2 separate regions of the Homo sapiens genome follow, and region 2 is linked to region 1. The links are contacts of gene promoters, found by promoter capture Hi-C in human tissues and cell types (Jung and others, 2019). All regions are on one chromosome and are shown on one strand. The core of a region is centred on a gene start or on the middle of the fragment in contact, and the rest is flanking DNA. Distances in the headings are between cores, read along the strand shown.

Evidence for each region. Contacts are between HindIII fragments. The study calls those that stand out against the background at their distance.
Region 2: a fragment that was not itself captured here is called in contact with the fragment with the promoter of PSG11 in region 1 in 2 of the 25 tissues and cell types used here (dorsolateral prefrontal cortex and mesenchymal stem cells).

Annotation. Positions count from the first base shown.
Region 1 is chr19:43,023,507-43,030,715 of GRCh38, forward strand. PSG11 (pregnancy specific beta-1-glycoprotein 11) reads right to left here and starts at 2,963. Exons shown (of 6, transcript NM_002785.3): 1 at 2,803-2,963; 2 at 1,185-1,550. The coding sequence starts at 2,866. The HindIII fragment of the contact is 7,620 bases long and covers 1,743-7,209 here.
Region 2 is chr19:42,896,805-42,904,013 of GRCh38, forward strand. PSG6 (pregnancy specific beta-1-glycoprotein 6) reads right to left here. Exons shown (of 6, transcript NM_001031850.4): 6 at 5,282-5,642. The coding sequence ends at 5,608. Among named protein-coding and RNA genes, the nearest start is that of PSG6, 17 kb to the right of the region's middle. The HindIII fragment of the contact is 3,294 bases long and covers 2,684-5,977 here.

The DNA.
Region 1 (7,209 bases), core at 1,713-4,212:
GCACTGACTTTGATGGTTGAAGCAGGTGATTTAGTTCTGGAGTATAGACTAATCAGCTGACCATTTGCTCTCACTCCTCTGAGGTTTGGATGCCTAAGAAGAGAGGATTTGAGCCAATAAATGACTATGGGGTGCTTGGAACCCAGTAAGCCCTCACTTCTGGTGGAGGAGAGGATGGGCCTGTGGCTGCAGACAGACCTCATGTGACCCTGATCTCCCCTTTGCGTTTGTGTGACTCTGATTCAGTGACTGTGCCTTCCTGTGCCTCAGTTTTCTCTCAATCAGATAAGTTAAATGGCAAATGGACTGTGGCTTTTCATGCTATCTGTGAATAAATGTTAAATTATTCACAGTCACCTGACCTAATGCTTGGCACAGTGGAGGTGTTCACACAAGCAGCATTTATTATTAATTTGCTTCCATGAGAAAGCACCTTTACGTCAGATCCCTGTGGACAAGCTGCTACCAGGTACATCTTCTCTCTTCTGTTTCTGCTTCTGAGGACATTAGACTTTCTATGGACTGTCCTAAGCCTCCTAAGGCAGTTGGCTGATGACCTACAAAGCTTGTCTTTCTGTCCTCTCCACTCTGAGTGTCAGGTGAAGAAAGCTCTGTCCTTGCCCAGATGAGGCTCTGAGGGCTGAGCCCTGGCTGGTGAACAGCTCCAGGAGACACAGTCCTCAGACAGCTGGTAAATTCTTGGTCCCAGTAAGCCCTGCCCAAGAAGCCACAACCCAGCCCTGGAACAGGCTCCTCAGCTTTATCTGGAACAAGGATTTAGGTACAGAGTTCTGGGTTTGAGGCTTCTAGGGCTGAGCTTCTCTGAGAGTATCTCAGGGGCCCCTCAGGTCAAATTCTACTCAGTTCTCCAGGGTCTTTCTCAGGGTCAAATTTATGAAGAGGGCATGAGGTGCTTGGCTGAGACTGATCTCCTCCTGCTGAGTCCCCCCATCAGACTGTCCTTCCTCTGCAGCGAGTGTCTGCAGGGTCTGGATGCGGGAAAGGAATTCTGATCTGTTGAAATTTGTCTCCTCTGTGTGTGTCCTGCACTAAATGCCCAAACCCCAGCATGGGACATAATGCAGAGAGGGACACAGGCAATGTCCAGGCCTGACAATCCTGTGTGTGTGATGTAGAAGTGACCCCTGTCCCCCAACACCCAGGGATCATGTGGAATCACTTACGGTATAAGGTGAAGGTGAAATATCCAGTTACTCCTCTAGTCCCATCACCTCGCTTTATGATGTGTAAGGTGTAGGATCCTGCGTCCTCCCGGGTGACATTCTGGATCAGCAGGGATGCATTGGAATATACTGTTTCTCGTCCACTGTATGCCGGTCCATATATAATTATTTGACCGTCTACTACATATGATGTAATGTAATGGTAGAGGTCCCTGATTTGCCCTTTGTACCAGATGTAGCCAGTAAGATTCTGGGGCAAATTGTGGACAAGTAGAAGAACATCCTTCCCCTCGGACACTTTGGGTGGCTGGGCTTCAATCATGACTTGGGCAGTGGTAGGCAAGTTCCAGAAGTTTAAAAGTAATGCTAGGAGGTGGAGAGAGCATCAGTCAATATTGAGACCTATGTATTGGGGTGAAAAGATGGGGCCCTGAGTCCTGAGAAGGTCTCTTCAATCCTCAGCCTTGAAGACACACACACACACACACACACACATACAAACATACACACACAGAAAAGGGGCATGTGTGTTTGTGTATGTGTATGTGTGTGTGTTCTACTGTCCTACTAGGTCAAGGTCAGCAGCATGACCCCCATTCCTTCAACACTTCTGACCTTGGCATTTTTCTGTTTGGAATCCTCTTCCCCAGGGGTCCGCATGGCCCCCTCCACACTGCCCTCAGGTCCTGCTCACATCAGGGCATCCTTAGACTTCTTTCCTGACACCTCCTTCAGGGACTCTGGGTCTTCCCTTTCTGACCTTTCCCTGCTCTGCTCCCTCCAGGGTTCTTGTCAACACCTGACCTCACATTCTAGATCTCTTTGCATGTCTGACTTCCTCCCCATGGCAGCATGAGCTCCGTGAGGACAGGGACTTTTGTGATCTTGGTTGCACCCCAGTGCCTGGAACAGGCTGCAGACTCCTGTAGATGTGAGAGTTCTCAGGGCCGTCCACGCCCTGGGTGTTTTTTTTTTTTTCCCCAATTGTTGAGGTTTTTTATTGAGGACAGTGTTTCATGCCCTGTTTATTTTTATTTGTAGTGTCATCTGATATAGTTATTATTATCATTTTTCAAAATGTGGTGGCCCCTGATGATTAATCAGGAAAACAGAACACCTGTTTCCTACCTCTTACCAATTCCGGTTCAATGTGACTTTCCTGTTTTGACCCCTGTCCCTCTTGGGTGTATTTTCCCCTATCCAGGCATCAACAGGGCCTTCTTTCCTTTTTTTTTTTTTTTTTCTCTTTTTTTTTTTTTTTTTTTTTTTGAGATGGAGTCTCGTACTGTCACCCAGCCTGGCGTGCAGTGGCACTATCTCAGCTCACTGCAACTTCCGCCACCCTGGTTCACGTGATTCTCCTGCCTTGGCCTCCTGAGTAGCTAGGATTACAGGAGCACACCACCATACCTGGTTAATTTTTTGTACTTTTAGAAGAGACAGGGCTTCACTCTGTTGGCTGGACTGATCTTGAACTCCTGATCTCGTGATCCACCCACCTCAGCCTCCCTAAATGCTGGCTTTTTTATTTTTTAGAACCCCAGGAGCCTCTCCAGGAGACCCCATCCAGTCACTCTGCTTCCTCCTCCTGTCCTCTCCCAGGAAGTTCTCTCCTCACCTGTGAGCAGGAGCCCCTTCCATTTGATGTGCTCTGTGCAGGGAGGGGCTGAGAGGGGCCCCATGATCTCTGCTGCGTGCATGTTCTCCTCTGTGGAGATGAGCCTAGGATCCAGAAGCTTCCAGAGCACGGCTGTCAGCTGTGCTGTCCTTCCTCCTTCTGCGCTGAGACTCTTCCCGGTGGAAGGAGCACTTCTCAAGCTCATGGGCAGGGTCAGGCCGAGGACACCTCTCTGTCCCCTCCTCTCTCAGCCCTGCCTCCTTGTCCCTCCTTCTGTTTTTCCTTTTGTCTGTGTTTCAGGTCCCTGGGAATTGTGGAGGCCTCTGCCTTTTTCAGCAGTGATTCTTTCACCAAACCTCAATACACACTTTGTGCGGACACACACATACACACACACACAGAAGAGACACACACAGACCCACACAGTCAGACACATACCCTGCAGGTTGGGCAAGCAGAGTCCTGGGCCTCAGCCTCCTGCTGTCCCCATTGCTCTTGGTCGGGGTGCACATTCACACCCTTTGCCCTCTTTCATCCCCGTCTGGCTCTCCCCTTCAGTGCAGGAGGCTGGAGCTGCACCAGGTCCCTGTCAGAGTGACACCCCATTGTGCTGTGGGTGAGCTGTGTGTTGCCTGGTGAGAGGGACCCTTCTTTTCTCCAATCGTGTCTAGCTTGGCTGCAGCTTCCAAGGATGGACATTGAGGACCTGGGTTTCCCAGAGGAAACTGTCCTTCCTGGAGGTGTGCAGGGTGAATCTTTCATGCCTCCTGGGAGGAGAGGCCTGTGCTGGTTGCTCAGTGGGGGCTGTGAGTCCCATAGTCAAAGGGAAAGTTCTCGGTCACTCTGTGACTCCATGGGGTCTGGCAGCTGAGCTGGAGCTCTTGGTTTCTCATGTTCTTCCTGACAATCTTTGATGTCCTTTCTTCTCTGCCGAGCTGATTGTCCTGTGGTCACCACACCTTCCCCGTGGTGGTGCAGGAGGAAGTGGGGAGTTACCCAGGAATCCCGCGGGACATGACTTATTGAGACGCAGGAGGAGGAGCCTGGGACAGAGCAGGGGTTCAGAGCTGGAGAGATTCATCCCGACTTACTCCGTGGCCATGATGGGCTCAGCCCTCCATGTGCTGAGATACCCAGGGGTCTGTCCTGAGGGTTTTGACCTGGCCAAGCTGCTGTGTGTAGAGGAGGAACAGGCAGTGGCCAGAGATCCTGTCTGGAGGGACGTAGCTCACACCTGAGAGGGCGGGTGGGGGTGAGTTGTGTTCTGGGAGCAAAGAGCAATAACACCCCCCTTCTCCCCGCAAGCACACGGGAGACGTCTGTCTTCCCAAGAGACAGCTGGGGGTAGGTGGCCACATCCCGGATGGTGCCTGTGTGTGACCATCACACGCGCTCTGAGCCCTCCGGGGTTCAGTGAGCAGGCAGGTCACAGGGTGCCTGGCTGATTCCCGGTGAGGCTGTGGGCCCTCAGGCAGCCGCTATTCTGTGTCAGCGCTAAGCTTGGCCTGGGATGCCCCAGTGAACAGGACAGATGGAGCAGGGGTGGGCATTTAGGGAGCAGTGACAGAAAGAGTTGATGTTGATGGAGGGAGGTCACGAGGGGAAAGCGCCCAGTGTGGCATCGCGTGCACCAGCGCTGCCCTGGGAGATGCCTTTAGCTGGGCCCAGGGAAGGAGCAGGTGTGTGGGGCAGGAACTACCTGTAGGGGGAGTGGTGTTAGGTTGGTGGCCCCCAGGTCAGGGAGGAGCTGACAGAGACCCTGTGGGGAGCATGGAGGGCGCTGAGGACTTAGTCCGAAGTGACCCTGGTGAGGGTGGACCCTGCTGGGCTGTGGGTTCCGCTGAGGGCGGTTGGCATCCCTTGGGAAGACTCCAGGCCGGGAGGGACTCTGTCGCCTTCTGGTGGACAGGGAGGGAAGTGTGAACGGCAGCAATCCCAGGCCAGGCTGCATGTTTTATTCTACGTGGATCTGCACACTTCACACAAGGTCACACATATGTTATGTTATAGCTCCTTCACCTTCCAGCCCCGTGAGTCCCAGTCTGTGTGGCTCTACGTTCACTGTTCTCCCTCTTTCACGATCAGATATCCCAAACGCAGATGTTTGTCACTTTCTGTGAGTTTGTGTTTGTGTGCAGTAGGCGGCACTGTGTATACCCTGGGGGCAGTGATGTCTGGGGCTGAGCGCTGCACTTGGGCTTGGGAGAAGAAGACGGAGCAGCAGGGTGGGAAGATCAATGTCAGGGGGGCAGGGACATCATTTTCATTTTCTCCCAGGGACCAGAACCCACGATTTTGACTCCAGGGCACAGTACCACACCCTGCTGGTGTCCCTGGATGTCATGATGCTCATAGTGTCATGTTGCCTTGGCATTCATTTTTTAAGTTGTAAGTTTATTTGCCTCAAATCAGAGGCAGGGCTTGGTCACCATGGCAGTTTTCAATACTGTATCTGGTTCAGGTGGCTCCAGTTGGTGTCCAGAGATAAAATCTTAGAGGCATCTCTCCTGCTTGGTGTGCTGGACTCCCCTCTCTCCAGCTGCTTTCTTTAAACTGATAATTCTGACATTCGCCCTCATATTTAAAGTGACCACCTCTCAGTCACAGCGTGAGCTCCTGGTCCCAGTGTTTGCTGCTTTCTTTGAACACATCCATTAAAGCTCCCTGCTGGAAATCTGTCATATAACACCCTGGACTTAATAAAGCCATTGGCTTACCAGTCTCTTCTCTCCTCCCTGCCTGGGCTCACTGAACTCTGTGTCTGCGGTCTCCAGGTGTGCCGAGTGCTCCCTAGTGTCTGTAAGTAGTAAAAATACTGACATTTTCACTTTGTGGTTGTATCATTGTAGCCTCACATGCCATCCAGAGGCTGACATTGAGGCTGCCCTATGGGACCTGTGCTGGTTGAGCCTCTGCTGGAGCTCTTGTTTTGGGGCCTCTGGTACTCCTGGGGACAGGAGCTTCCAGGTAACTTGATTGAAAAACTCATGCCTTTCATTGAAACACTGGGTCAGATGATGTATTCATGGGCTTCAGCTGCCATAACAAATGCCTTAGCCTGGGTGAATTACATAACAGAAATCTATTTTTCACAGTTCTGTGAATAATGTGCTATTCTAACCACTTTAAGATGCACAATCAAGTGAAATTAACCACATACACAGTGTTAAATTACCATCACCACTATTTTTCCTAGAAAATTTTTATCACTTTAAACTGAAACTTTGTATCTTTCAAACAATACCTCCCTGTATGTTCCACCCTAGACTTTGATCATCTCTACTCTGTCTCTATGAATTTGCCTATTCTTGATGTTTCATATAAATGGAATTATACAATGATGTTATTTTGTTTCTGACATATTTCACTTAGCATAATGTTTCCATAGTCCATGCATGTTCCAGTGGGTGTCAGAGCTTCATTCCTCTTTATGGCAGATTAACATTCTGTTGTATGTGTCACCATATTTATTTATTCATGCATTGATGAGCACTTGGATTGTTTTCATATTTAATCTTTTGTGAATAATGCTGCAATCAACACTATCATGCAAGTACCTGTTTGAGTCCTGGATTTAATTCTTTGGGTATATACCTAGGAATGGATGTTGTTTCAAATGAGAATTATATGATTAGCTTTTTGAGGAACAGCAAAACTGTTTCTCCTAGAGGCTGTACCTTTTTATATTCTCACGAGCAATATATGAGGATTCCAAATTCTACATAATACTGCTACTTGTTATTTAACATTTTAAAAGAATGGTAACCAGTTTTGTAGATGTGATGTGGTGTCTCATTGCAGCTTTGACTTTGTGTTTTCCTGATGACTAATGATGTTGAGTATCTTTTCATGTCCTTCTTGACTCTTTGTATATCTTCTTTGAAGAAATGTCTATTTGACTCTTTTGCCCATTTATAAATTGGATGATTTGTCCTTTCTTTATTGAGTTGTAGCTAGTTCTTTATATTATCTGAACATGAAAACTGCCTATATGTGGTTTGCAAATATTTTCTCTCATTCTGTGTCTATTAATTACTTTCTTGATAATTTCCTTTGATGTACAAAATGCTCACATCTTGATAAAGCCCAATATATCTTGTTTTTCTTCTTTCTCATGCTTTTGTATCATATCTAAGAATCCATTGCACATTTGAGGTCATCAATATTTACCTCTATGTCTACTTTGAGATGTTTTTATGGTTATAGGTCTTATATTTAACTCACTGATCAATTTTTTAGGGAATTGTTTGATACGGTGTGAGGTAGAGTTATCTAAATTCACTGTTTTGCATGTGGTTATCTAGTTGTTTCTGCACTATCATTAGAAAGGAGAATTGTTCCTCCATTAAGTTGTCTTGACACTCTCTTCAAAGACTAATTGACCATAAGTGTGAGGGTTTGCTTCTA
Region 2 (7,209 bases), core at 3,081-5,580, 130 kb before region 1:
GTCTATAGGGTTAGAGTGATGTTTGCCAAACGAATTGCTCTAATTGAAGCAGCAGTTGTGTGACTTTAATAAAGTTCCAGGATTATACTGTCCCTTTGTTGCTGTGACTTCCCTTTGCCTTTTTCTGATTTGTCTTCATCCCCTTTTCCACGGGGCATGACTTCTTAAGAATGAGCCTTCCTAGTGATGTAGGATCAGATGAAACATACAGTCACAAAGTCATGTCTTCTACAATGCTTTCTCTGAAAGCTTTTGAAGAATCGAGGGACCAGGTGTGCTGACACAGACCTGTAATCCCAGCAGTTTGAGAGTCCAAGGCAGGAGGATCACTTGAAACCAGGAGTTTAAGACCAGCCTGAGCAACAAAGGGAGACCATGTCTCTACCAAACATAAAATAAATCAAATTAGCCAGGTGCAGTGATGCATGCCTACAGTCTCAGATACTTGGGAGGCTAAGGCGGGAGGACCACTTCAGCCCAGGAGTTCAAGGCTGTAGTGAGTACACTCCAGTCTTGGTGACAGAGCAAGGTTGTGTCTCTAAAAGAAAAAAAAAAAGGAAAGGAAAAGAATGGGGTAAGCAGGAAAGCCAAAGATCTCGGGCATCTCCAGATGATTCCCTGAACAAATTGTTTTTTCTTGGCTTCAAAACCTTTCAAGATGTATATTTCTTTGTAAAAGAAAGACATGCCAATTGTAACTTTAAGTGAGCAGTCAAAATCTAGCTCCTAAAACTGAAGTATTTTAACTCTCATTCTGATAATATTTATTTTCTGAGGCAAAGAAGAAAGACAAGATTAGATGAATTGTTTTTCTGCCCACACCATCTCTTCCGACATGCCTTATCCCTTTAATCAAATGTATAAATACTAAGCCTCCTGAAACCTCTTCAGAGAAAACACAAGCCACAGAGGTTTTTTTGCAACTCATGTATTCCCAGGGTGTACTTTCAAGTTCTGGCTCAATAAATCTCAATTTATCAAGACCCTTGCCTCAGTCAGTCATTCTGGATAACCACCATGAGTCCTGCAAAGCCCTTCAGTAATCTGTTGCCTGCCTAGGTGATGTGTAAGGTGAGTCAGGTCTTCATGAGTCAAACACTCGTCTTCCTTTCTGTCTTTCCCAACCCTACCACTCAGTGCTGTGTGCTCTGATCTGACCCCAGCTCCCAGGTTGTTTGTATTGGTCTAAGAAAGCAAGACCAGGAGGGGCAGGTTGAGAAGGAAGTAAGAAGTGAACATGGAAAGTGGCAGGTGGGGCTGTCATTGCTCAAAGCCACACACCCTGGGTGCATTTTATGAATTTTTCTGGATTCATAATCTTTTCCCTGTGTGTCTATCTAGAAACTCACCCCCCTCCTACTTTCTTCTCATTACTCTTTCTGTTTCTAGTGCACTCGTTTATGGCCAGAGAATGGCCGTGTAAATAGTTGACAATAGAATAAAAAATGATGTTTTCTGAGACTTGGAAGCTGGCCTTTCTTTTTTCCAAAAGAGATTGGGGTTTCTAAAAGCTAGCTTTTATGCAGGGCTGTGCAGTTGTGAGTGTAGTTTTAGGGAACAGATGCATAAGTGAAGGGTGAGACAGAAAACAAAATGCTGGCTGTTTGTCAAATCCTGAAAGTAAATGGGACAAAAATCATTTTTGAAGGAGGATGTCATTCAGGAGACCTTGTACATCTTAGCGTGTCCTCTTACCAGAAGAATTGGAGGTTGAGGTTGAATTATGGATTTAAGTGACAGTGGGTATATAATTCTCTGCCTCAGTTTTTTTTTTTAATCTGTAAAAATGGGGATTGTGGCTCTTGGGATTTTTTGGTGAGCACTATAGTTACCTGAAAAGCTCTTAGGATAGTGCCTGGTGCATAGTGAGTGCTGCATCAGTGTGAGCTATTATAATTATGGGAATATACAAAGGTATCACCCTGGCCATCCAGAGTGGGGAGATATTTTCTGGTCAGGGTCCAGGCAGGCCAGCTGGAGATGAAGCTGATTAGTAGGGAAGCTTAACTTCCAGGAGTGGAAGAATTTAGGAGGAGTAAACAGAATGCACAACATTCTGCAAACATTCCTTTACCCAACAGTAGGAATACTCAGAGTGGGTGTGTCTTCCGTGACAATCATTATCTCCTGGGAATCTAAGAATGTGTTCTAGAGTCAAATGGCTTTGATGTAAGCCAAACCCAGAAATGGGCTTCAGGGCTGCCTTGCACATAGCATTCATTCATCTTGAAAAAGGAAAGCATTCATCTTGCTAAAGGAATCCCCTCTTCTGGCCCAGGCCATTATTTTTGTTTTTGTGCTATCCTAATTTTTAAGGTGTAAGCAGAAAGACTGAAGAATAAAATAATGAAGTACATGAATGAAATAACAGGGTAGAATTGAGACTGCTACATGTAAGTTAAGAGAAATTGTGTATAAATTTTTGTGAACAGAAAAAGGATTTCTTGTTGCAAACAGACCTCTCTATATAAATAATACCTCCTGCCTTGAGTGGATAGCAGACCGCATCACAAGAACATTCCAGCAGAGTCATGAGAGAATGGTTAGTGTGGCTTCTTTAATTGTCAGGTTAGACTGAGTAAGTTACTGAAGAGAAAGGAGTTGAAGGAGAAGATGGGTGAGGGCAAGAAAAATGGGAAGGTGAAAGGAAAGGACTGAAAGGAATGTTTACCAAGGGCTCATCAGGTACCAGGCTCTGTGACTAATGTCTTACACATGTTAATTTACTCTTCCACTGTCATTTTCTGATGCAGTAAGAGTCAGCCTTACACTGCAGATGAGGAAAGAGGCTGAGGGAAGTCAAATGAGTGGCCCAGGGTCATCCAGCCACTTCATAGCAGAGCTAGTGTGTTTCACTGTGGTTTGTGCAGACAGAAAAGTGAGACATGGAAGGAAGGCAAAACATTTTTGTTGTGGGTGATGTTTATGAAAGTGACCCGTATGAGGCAGAATAATGGCCTCTTAAAAATGTCCACATCCGGGCCGGGTGCAGGGGCTCACGCCTGTCATCCCACCACTTTGGGAGGCTGATACGGGTGGATCACGAGGTCAGGAGTTCAAGACCAGCCTGGCCAACGAGGTGAAACCCCGTTTCTACTAAAAATGCAAAAATTAGCTGGGCGTGGTGGCGGGCAACTTTAATGCCAGCTACTTGGGAGGCTGAGGCAGGAGAATCATATGAACCTGGGAGGCGGAGATTGCAGTGAGCCTAGATTGTCCCACTGCACTCCAGCCGGGGCAACATGAGTGAAACTGTCTCAAAAAAAAAAAAAATCCACATCCTAACTCTTGGAACACATGCATTTACTTTTCTTGGCAAAAACACTGTTCAAAGGTGATGAGGTTGAGTATCTTGAGATGGAAAGCTTATTCTGGCTTATCTGGATGGCTCCCAGTGTCATCATAGGGGTCCTTGTAAGTGAAAGAGCAAGGCAGGAGGGTCAGGGTGAGAATGATGCAGTCTGAGAGACTCCACTGGCCATTGCTTGCTGTGAACATGTGTGATAAGACAAAATTACAACTGATTTAGTTATAGATGTAATTGGTTTTTATTTGTGATTTATGATTTGGGGCAGCTCTCCCTCTACAGATGCCTCAGCATCCCAAGTAGCTGGGACTATATTGTGGGATCTGGCCAGCAACCTGCAATGCAACAGGGCTCTTTCTTTGTTCCCAGGCAGATCGGCAAGTTGAGAAATAAAGGACACACACAAGATAGGGAAAGCTGTGTCCAGGGGTGTCACCGCCTTCTGGTCCTGCGATGCTGCCAATGCACTGGATACACCAGCATTTATTATTAAGTTTAGTGAGAGTGGGGGTAGTTTAGTGAGGGATTTAGGGTCATTTATAGGCTCTCCATAAGGGTCACATTCCTTTCCCAGAGCTACAGACATCTGCTTTTCTGGGATAGGAATCTTGGTAATGTGAAACCTCCCTGACTGCCCATCCATTCATAGGCTCTCTGCAGGGGGAAGCACATCACGTGCTGTTGGCTCATTCTGGCAGTCCAACCTGGCATTTTTCTTTACACAATCCTTCATGCAATTTTGTACTTACAATAATCAGGAGCTTTAAAGGATGTCTTGTTATGTAAAAATGTGTTGGCTGGGTGCGGTGGCTCATGCCTGTAATCCCAGTACTTTGGGAGGCTGAGGCGTGTGGATCACCTGATGTCGGGAGTTCGAGACCAGCCTGACCAACATGGAGGAACCCTGTCTCTACTGAAAATACAAAATTAGCTGGGCATGATGGTGCATGCCTGTTATCCCAGCTACTTGGGAGGCTGAGGCAGGAGAATCACTTGAACCCAGGGGGCGGAGGTTGTATTGAGCCAAGATTGTCCCATTGCACTCCAGCATGGGCAACAAGAGTGAAACTCCATCTTAAAAAATAAATGAAGTGTGGTTGACATGATATATCTGACACTGTTAACTTACTCTCAGAAGCTACTTCTTGTGAAATCCTAAGTACAGCATTATTCTGGGAAGCAAAGGAGACAGGCATAAGCAAGGAGAAATTAAGAGAGGTAAGAGTCTCATCATGATTGATAGTCTTGTTCTGACATCTTGAGAAAAGCTGTCCACAGTGTAAAGTCATCAACTTGTTGTCGTGGTTTGCAGTTTGAGTGTCTCTAAGTTATGGTGTTGAACATTTGGTGAGCTTTTAGTGGCCCACACCTCAGACACGAGGGTTTTCCCATGAAATTTACATTGAGTTGTCCACCTCCAGCTTATATGGCTTCAGGAACAGAGCTGCTCTTGTTCTTAATGATTTCATTGGAGAAAATTGAATTGGAAGAACTAAAAGAATTCAGGGTCCAGTCCAGTCTACCAGTGGATTATAAATACTCAAAGATAATGAACAGTAGTGGTTCAATCTGGTAACAGGTGTACTACAGTTTTTCTTTTCAACTAGTTTTTCTCTCTATAGGAGTCTCTAATTTTACCAAAGATAATTCCAGTAGGATGAATTTGTTTGCAAAATAGGTTGAGTCTCACCGAACTTGCCCAGATTTTTTACCTAAGTGCGGCAAGAGTAGCCGTGGACCATAGAGGCTCTTTTTAAACGTCCCTTTGCTAGAAGTTTTTAATAAGAATCTCAGATGAAACTTCCAAAAACCTCTTGAGACTAGGAAACTAAACCAAGACCAACTTCAGACTTTGCCTGCTTTCCCTATGGGTTTATTCTAGGTATATTATCAAATATAACATCCCAGTAAAAGCTTTGGTAATATAACCAATGTTTTCAAATGTGTCCTGTTATAAAGAGAGCAGATTCTTACTGAACTTGTGCAAATAACTTTATTACCATAAACCTATGAATACTCATGAATAGTTTCCCAATTCTGGGGCACTCAGATAGAGAGCAAAAGCAAATGTTTCAATTTTTGTTTACAAAAGTATACTTTACCAATTGCTGAAGAAAAAAAGTTCATAAATCTGGAGAATAAAACATTCCAAGAATCAGCACATTTTCCAATAAAAAATTATGAAAACATTATCCTTTTGATTATTTAGTCCAATAACATTGAGTTTTTTTCTTCTTTGTCTTGAATTTCATGAAGGTATCAACCTGTTCTTTTTCTCAGTGTCTCTATTGTGGCAGCCATTAATGAGACTCTGTCTGGTTTCCATGGCAGGGACCTGATTGACAGAAGGCCCAGGTCAGCGCATTTCAAATTCACTACCTCCTTTACAGAGAAAGCTTCTTTCCCACAGGCTCCCAGCAAGGGTGTGAAAGCAAGTCTAGTTCTCCGAGGCTCTCTTTAACTCCAATGGGTGACTGGTTGGAGGATTCCTCATCAGCCTTGCAAAAACTCTTAGAACTGCATTGGTACCTAAAACTTCTTTCTCTTTCTTTTTCACAGGAATCAGCTCTGCATAGCGGTCTGTGGGTTCTCCCATACTACCTTCATGCCTGCCCCACATTCCCTCACAGGTGTCTTCCCTGATAAATTATCTTGTATGTCTAATCCCATCTTGGATGCATCTCAGTTGGTAAAAACTAACATACCAGACTTGATTCTTTGCACTTAGCTTTTTTTCTTTCTCTCCCACAATTAGTCAGTAACCATGTCCTAGTGTTTTATGTGTTACCGCTTTTTTCATATCTATGGAAAAAGGTAGGTACTGTTGAGGTGCACTTTCTATGTGCCAGGCCCTGTGCTCAATACTTTACCTGTATCTCATTTAATCCACACAATAACCCTGTCAGGTAGGCATTATTTCCATTTTGCTGATGAAAAGACAGAAGCTTAGCATGGTGTAAAAACTTTCCTGGTGTCATATGGCTAGTGACAGGTGGATCTGAGATTTGATTCTAGGACTATTTGACCTCAAGGCTAATGATGATGGTAGTAATATAGCAGCTGACATTGGTTCCTCTTTGTGTGGCATCTTGTTTCATTGACTGCATTAAACCTTTAAAAGAATGGTATGAAGAAAGTACTCTTATTGCAATTTTCAGGTGAGGAATCAGGGGTTCAGAGAAGTTGAGTCTTGTGCAAGAAATTTATAACTGTAAACTCTTACATTAAAAAAGAAGAAAGAGCTCAGGTCAACAACCTACTTTAATACTTCAGGATACGAAAGAAGAACAAACTAAACCCAAGCACAGTGAATGAGGGAAATAATAAGTATTAGGGTGGATATAAATAAAATGGAGAATGGAAACAGAATAGAGGAAATTACTGAAACCAAAAGTTGATTCTTCAAAATAAAATCAACAAAATTGACAACCATTAACTAGATTGGCTAAGAAAAAAAGAGAAAAGATAAAATTACTCAAATCATAAATGAAAATGGACTCTGAGCATGGTGGGTCATGTTTTAATCCTAGCACTTTGGGAGGTCACAGCAGAAGGATTTCTTGAAACCAGGTGTTTGGACCAGCATAGGTAACCTGGGGAGATGCTGTCTCTACAAAAAAAAAAAAAACCAATTAGCTGGGCATGTTGACATGCACCTGTAGTCCTAGCATCTTGGGAGGCTGAAGAAGGAGAATTGCTTGAGCCCAGGAGGTTGAGGCTGCAGTGAGCCATAATCACACCACTGTATTCCATCCTAGGGTGGCCTACAGAGTGAGAGCCTGTCTCTCTGTCTTAAAAGAAAAAGAAAAAAGAAAAATGAAGCGATTACTACCAATTCTAATAAAATAATGATTATGAAAGTACTATAAATAATTGTATGCCAATAAATTGGATAACCTAGA